2 separate regions of the Homo sapiens genome follow, and region 1 is linked to region 2. Evidence: promoter capture Hi-C in human tissues and cell types (Jung and others, 2019). All regions are on one chromosome and are shown on one strand. The core of a region is centred on a gene start or on the middle of the fragment in contact, and the rest is flanking DNA. Distances in the headings are between cores, read along the strand shown.

Region 1 (3,302 bases), core at 324-2,823, 150 kb after region 2:
TTAAAGTCAGGTAGCATGATACCTCCAGCTTTGTTCTTTTGGCTTAGGATTGACTTGGCAATGCGGGCTCTTTTCTGTTCCATATGAACTTTAAAGTAGTTTTTCCAATTCTGTGAAGAAAGTCATTGGTAACTTGATGGGGATGGCATTGAATCTATAAATTACCTTGGGCAGTATGGCCATTTTCATGATATTGATTCTTCCTACCCATGAGCATTCCATTTGTTTGTATCCTCTTTTATTTCATTGAGCAGTGGTTTGTAGTTCTTGAAGAGGTCCTTCACATCCCTTGTAAGTTGGATTCGTAAGTATTTGATTCTCTTTGAAGCAATTGTGAATGGGAGTTCACTCATGATTTAGCTCTCTGTTTGTCTGTTATTGGTGTATAAGAATGCTTGTGATTTTTGCACATTGATTTTGTATCATGAGACTTTGCTGAAGTTGCCTATCAGCTTAAGGAGATTTTGGGCTGAGACGATGGGGTTTTCTAGATATACAATCATGTCATCTACAAACAGGGACAATTTGACTTCCTCTTTTCCTAATCGAATACCATTTATTTCCTTCTCCTGCCTGATTGCCCTGGCCAGAACTTCTAACATTATGTTGAATAGGAGTGGTGAGAGAGGGCATCCCTGTCTTGTGCCAGTTTTCAAAGGGAATGCTTCCAGTTTTTGCCTATTCAGTATGATATTGGCTGTGGGTTTGTCATAGATAGCTCTTATTATTTTGAGATATGTCCCATCAATACCTAATTTATTGAGAGTTTTTAGCATGAAGCGTTGTTGAATTTTGTCAAAGGCCTTTTCCGCATCTGTTGAGATAATCATGTGGTTTTTGTCGTTGGTTCTGCTTATATGTTGGATTACAGTTGTTGATTTGCGTATGTTGAACCAGCCTTGCATCCCAGGGATGAAGCCCACTTGATCATGGTGGATAAGCTTTTTGATGTGCTGGTGGATTCAGTTTGCCAGTATTTTATTGAGGATTTTGCATCGATGTTCGCCAGGGATATTGGTCTAAAATTCTGTTTTTTTGTTGTGTCTCTGCCAGGCTTTGGTATCAGGATGATGCTGGCCTCATAAAATGAGTTAGGGAGGACTCCCTCTTTTTCTGTTGATTGGAATAGTTTCAGAAGGAATGGTACCATCTCCTCCTTGTACCTCTGGTAGAATTCGGCTGTGAATCTGTCTGGTCCTGGACTTTTTTTGGTTGGTAAGCTATTAATTATTGCCTCAATTTCAGAGCCTGTTATTGGTCTATTCAGAGATTCAACTTCTTCCTGGTTTAGTCTTGGGAGGGTGTATGTGTCGAGAAATTTATCCATTTCTTCTAGATTTTCTAGTTTATTTGCATAAGGGTGTTTATAGTATTCTCTGATGGTAGTTTGTATTTCTGTGGGATTGGTGGTGATATCCCCTTTATCATTTTTTATTGTGTCTATTTGATTCTTCTCTCTTTTCTTCTTTATTAGTCTTGCTAGCGGTCTATCAATTTTGTTGATCGTTTCAAAAAACCAGCTCCTGGATTCATTGATTTTTTGTAGGGTTTTTTGTATCTCTATTTCCTTCAGTTCTGCTCTGATCTTGGTTATTTGTTGCCTTCTGCTAGCTTTTGAATGTGTTTGCTCTTGCTTCTCTAGTTCTTCTAATTGTGATGTTCGGGTATTAATTTTAGATCTTTTCTGCTTTCTCTTGTGGGCATTTAGTGCTATAAATTTCCCTCTACACACTGCTTTGAATGTGTCCTAGAGATTCTGGTATGTTGTGTCTTTGTTCTCATTGGTTTCAAAGAACATCTTTATTTCTGCGTTCTTTTCATTATGTACCCAGTAGTCATTCAGGAGCAGGTTGTTCAGTTTCCATGTAGTTGAGCGGTTTTGAGTGAGTTTCTTAATCCTGAGTTCTAGTTTGATTGCACTGTGGTCTGAGAGACAGTTTGTTATAATTTCTGTTCTTTTACATTTGCTGAGGAGTGCTTTACTTCCAACTATGTGGTCAATTTTGGAATAGGTGTGGTGTGGTGCTGAAAAGAATGTATATTCTGTTGATTTGGGGTGGAGAGTTCTGTAGATGTCTATTAGGTCCGCTTGGTGCAGAGCTGAGTTCAATTCCTGGATATCCTTGTAAACTTTCTGTCTCGTTAATCTGTCTAATGTTGACAGTGCGGTGTTAAAGTCTCCCGTGATTATTGTGTGGGAGTCTAAGCCTCTTTGTAGGTGTCTAAGGACTTGCTTTATGAATCCGGGTGCTCCTGTATTGGGTGCATATATATTTAGGATAGTTAGCTCTTCTTGTTGAATTGATCCCTTTACCATTATGTAATGGCCTTCTTTGTCTCTTTTGATCTTTGTTGGTTTAAAGTCTGTTTTATCAGAGACTAGGATTGCAACCCCTGCCTTTTTTTGTTTTCCATTTGCTTGGTAGATCTTCCTCCATCCCTTTATTTTGAGCCTATGTGTGTCTCTGCATGTGAGAAGGGTTTCCTGAATACAGCACACTGATGGGTTTTGACTCTTAATCCAATTTGCCAGTCTGTGTCTTTTAACTGGAGCATTTAGCCCATCAACATTTAAGGTTAATATTGTTATGTGTGAATTTGATCCAGTCATGATGATGTTAGCTGGTTATTTTGCTTGTTAGTTGATGCAGTTTCTTCCTAGCCTCGATGGTCTTTACAATTTGGCATGTTTTTGCAGTGGCTGGTACCAGTTGTTCCTTCCCATGTTTAGTGCTTCCTTCAGGAGCTCCTGTAGGGCAGGCCTGGTGGTGACAAAAATCTCTCGCATTTGCTTATCTGTAAAGTATTTTATTTCTCCTTCACTTATGAAGCTTAGTTTGGCTGGATATGAAATTGTGGGTTGAAAATTATTTTCTTTAAGAATGTTGAATATTGGCCCCCACTCTCTTCTGGCTTATAGAGTTTCTGCCAAGAGATCAGCTGTTGGTCTAATGGGCTTCCCTCTGTGTGTAACCTGACCTTTCTCTCTGGCTGCCCTTAACATGTTTTCCTTCATTTCAACTTTGGTGAATCTGACAATTATGTGTCTTGGAGTTGCTCTTCTCGAAGAGTATCTTTGTGGTGTTCTCTGTATTTCCTGAATCTGAATGTTGGCCTGCCTTGCTAGATTGGGGAAGTTCTCCTGGATAATATCCTGCAGATTTTTTTCCAACTTGGTTCCATTCTCCCCATCACTTTCAGGTACACCAGTCAGACATAGATTTGGTGTTTTTACCTTGTCCCATATTTCTTGGAGGCTTTGTTCGTTTCTTTTTATTCTTTTTTCTCTAAACTTCTCTTCT
Region 2 (3,722 bases), core at 757-3,256:
ATGAAAATTTGGTAAATATAAAAGTCCCGGACGCGACCGCCCGTAGCCTGCGGCCCCTGGCGGTTGAGGAGCCGCGGCGATCCTTGGTCTTCACCGCAGCAGCCAAGCCCGGCGCGCACCAACCGGCGCTGCTGAAAGTTGGAGAGCTCCCAGCTCGCCGATAGAATTCGGCGGTGGGCGCCAGGGGAATCCCTTCCAGTGCCGCAATTAGGAAAGTTTTAAAAAGTAAGGACCCTAGACAGACAAGAGATCCATCCTTTCCTTTAGCATAAGAAACACCCCGCGCCGCGCCAGCCGAACGCTGCTCGCACAAGGCTATCCGCCCTTCTTGGCCGGGACGCACTCGGTGCCTTCCAGCTCCCCACCAGAACTGGTCCAGGGGGCGCGGAAACAGAGAGGCAACTGTGTCCGGCTTGTGGTTCCAGACGGAAACGCCTCCGGGCTCCCTGGCCCGGGGGACAAGGGTTCGAAACTTCAACAGTCGCGAGGGCAAGGACAGAACTACCAACTCCCGCTCGGATGCCCGGGACCTGCTCTTCCAAGCCCGCTCCGGTTTCTCCAAAGGACGCGCGGCACAGCCCATGCGCCCCCGGCACTCCACTCCACTCCTCTATGGTTTCCCCCAAACTCTTCCCGGGGAGCCCCACAAAGCACAGACGGCGCCCTGAAACTCGCCAGGCACTCGCCAGCCATCCCCACCTCCGCCTCTCGAACCCTCCTTGTCGCGTTCTTCCCGCCCCGCACCTTTCTCCTCGCGTTTCTGGGAAGTCAGAAGCAAACCACGAGAAAATGCCTTCGCAAGGAGCCTCCCTACACCCGCCCTGTCACTGAAACAAAAGCGTAGGGAGGAGGGAGGTGGGAGAGGAGGCGGGAGGAAGGTTTAGAAAGACGATGGGGACAGCAGTAGGAAGGAGCTGGGGAGGGGGGTCAAGGTGGCAAGCAGAGCTGGGGGCCCAGAGTCCGCTCCCGTGCCGCGCGGCGAGTCGCTTACATGCCCAGGTCGCTGTAGGTGTTGAAGAACTCCATCTGATTGCACGCCTGAATCCAGCCCACCACCCAGGTCTCGTGGCGGGGGATGGGGGGCATGACCACGCGGGCGGAGGCTTTGAAGTAGGGGGTCTTGTAGCGCAGGACGATGGGCGAGGTCTCCTCGATGCGCGTGGGGCACTGGTCGATGGTGGCGCACACATCGTACACCACGATGTTCTCGCGCCGGATCCGCGCCTTGCAGGTGATGCTTTGGATACAGCCCATCCTGCAGCCCGGTGCCGGCACGGCGCGGCGTGGGGCAGCGCGGGGGCCCGCGCGGGCAGCCGGGGGCGCCCGTCACGCCGGCATGGCGACGCGCCGCTCGCTCCCGGTCAGACTCAGCTCGCACCTAGGAGCGGGGAGCCGCCGGGCATCCTTGGGGAAGCCCCCTCCTCTTGCAGCCGCGCGGGGTCCCCGCTGCCCCGACGTCCGCCCACGCCCGCCCCCTCGCTCCGGCAGGGCGCGCGGAGGGTGCACTCCTAGGAGGCGGCGGGTGCCCTCGCCGGCTCCAGCGCCCGGGCGGAGGGCAGGGAGGGGAGCGGCGCTGCGAGGAATGGTGCCCACCCCGGGCCGGAGCCCCCCGCCCCTCGCCGGAGAGGAGGAGGCGGCAGCGGCGGCGGCATGGAGCCGGGGGAGGGCGGCGGTGGCAGCGCCCGGTCTGTCTGCCTCCGCGGCGGCAGCAGCAGCAGCCGCCGCCGCCGCCGCCGCTGCATGAACCTCTGCACCACGGCTGCCCCCCGCGTGCAGCGCACCCAGCGGCGGGCGAGCGGGCGGCCCAAGAGGCAGGCGGAGGCAGCAGCGGCGGCGGCGGCGACCGGAGCTCCCGCCGGCCCCGCCCCGTAGCCGGACCACACCGACACTCCTCGGCCCGGCTGCCTCGGCCCGGGGGGCGCCAGGAGGCTGTGGCCCGGGGTGGAGAGCCCCAACGGCTGGAGCAGCACAGGACGTGCTCCGCGGAGGAAACTGGCTGTACGCCATGAGTTTTGTCCCTATTCGGCTGCCGTCCGGGTGGGGGGGGGGTAATGTGTAAGGGTGGGGGTGTTTAAAGGGCCGCTAGCGCCGGGGTGGGGCCCCGCACGTGGGGCTGAGGCGGGGCGGGGCCCTGGTAGGTGGTGCCCTGGGGTGGGGGTGGGGGACTAGGGCGGGCCCAAGCGCCACCGGGTGGGTGAGGCCGAGCAGGGCGCGGCGCTGTCCAGAGTCCAGTGGGGAACCCGGTAGCCCAGTAGGGGCTGTAGAGTGAGTGTTTCGGGCAGCAGAAGGGTTAGGGGAACAGCTTTATCAGAGATTGGTCGTTATTCAGAATATAGCTTGTTGGATTAGATTTAGGCTTGAGCCCTTTTAGTATCCTACCTTCAGAAAGGGTGAAGGGCGGGCTCCAGCAGCGTTACTAAATGCAGTGTATTTGCCTCTTTGCCTGACTGGGTTTGTTCTGGAAGCTCTTCTTTCCACCACTGTGTGTAGTGGGGATACCGGAAGAATCCCTCCGTACTCCAGCACTAAGTCTCTCATATGCCAGAGTTTTGGCAGACATTGGGCATTGTGTACAGTATGACCACGGTCATGTGTCTGATACTGCAGTCTAATGTGCCAAACAGGAAGAATATTTAGCAGATGCTTTTACTAGGCATCTTCTTACATTTTTATTTTCAAAGCCAATAGCTTCTAAGTATTTCTTCTGCGATCATTGAACATTTGCTGGATCTGCTGCCCAAGTGTGAAATACTGACTAACAGGCCGCAGGAGGTGCTAGAGTTAGTCTTTAGCTAGGACAGGTGTGACGAGTAATTTAAAAATTGATTGAGATCTAAAAGCACTCTTCATCCTTGTTTTAACTGTTCTGACACCTTGGTTCACTTTATAGTTAACAAAAAAGCAGTTTTTCCCTTTGATGACTCGTCTCTCTCATTTTACCGTGTAGCCACAGACCTCAATCACTGGTCCTTTCATTCAGCAAAGGCTGACTGCCTGCCTGGCAGGAGCCAAACATAGTGCTAGGTACTAGGGATTCAAAGTTGAAAAAGAGCACATGGATCACTGGAGAAAATAAACCTGTTAACAAGTTATTATAGTAAACTGTGACACCTGCTTTAGTGGGGTTGTGTATCCAGTGCCGTGGAAGGCCAGACATGTAAATCTCTGGCCACATGTAAATCCCTCAGTGGTCAGAGAGCCACTCAGTGGCTCTCTGGCCACTGAGAGATTTACGTGTGACTTTGCTCAAGTAGTGACATTTAAATTGAATACTGACAGACTGTAGAGTCTCACTGAAAAGAGAAAGGTGAATGAGTAGTACAGGACCAGCATTTGGCAAATGCAAAATGCATAGAGATATGAAAGAACTCATCCTGTACTGAGGGGGAGAAACAACTCACAGTCAAGGCATTTCTCAAGGTGTTATGTGTCGACCATGGGCATCAGAATCACTGTCCAAGAATCAATTGGTTGTTGATAGACCATATCTTTTTTCTTTTTAAAATTAAGACTACAGACTTTATTTTGATTTTACTAGTTTTTCCACTAATGTCTTTTTTTCTCTAGAATCTAATCCAAGATATGATGTTGCATTTAGTCATTACATCTCCTTATTCTTCTCAATCTGTGACAGCTTCTCAGTCTTTCTCTGTTTTTCATGACCTTGACATTTTTAAAGAGGACTGGTCAGATATTCTGTAGAATTGTTCCTCATTTGCATT

Evidence for each region. Contacts are between HindIII fragments. The study calls those that stand out against the background at their distance.
Region 1: a fragment that was not itself captured here is called in contact with the fragment with the promoter of FAM78B in region 2 in 1 of the 25 tissues and cell types used here (hippocampus).

What each region holds. Positions count from the first base shown.
Region 1 is chr1:166,312,315-166,315,616 of GRCh38, forward strand. The region is part of intron 1 of LOC112268276 (a long non-coding RNA gene); the gene reads left to right. Among named protein-coding and RNA genes, the nearest start is that of FAM78B, 150 kb to the left of the region's middle. The HindIII fragment of the contact is 4,504 bases long and covers 1-3,302 here.
Region 2 is chr1:166,164,995-166,168,716 of GRCh38, forward strand. FAM78B (family with sequence similarity 78 member B) reads right to left here and starts at 2,007. Exons shown (of 2, transcript NM_001017961.5): 1 at 992-2,007. The coding sequence starts at 1,254. LOC112268276 (a long non-coding RNA gene) reads left to right here and starts at 883. Exons shown (of 3, transcript XR_002958633.2): 1 at 883-1,060. RefSeq lists enhancers at 874-1,776, 948-1,117, 1,218-1,267 and silencers at 1,658-1,717, 1,758-2,247. The HindIII fragment of the contact is 7,560 bases long and covers 1-3,722 here.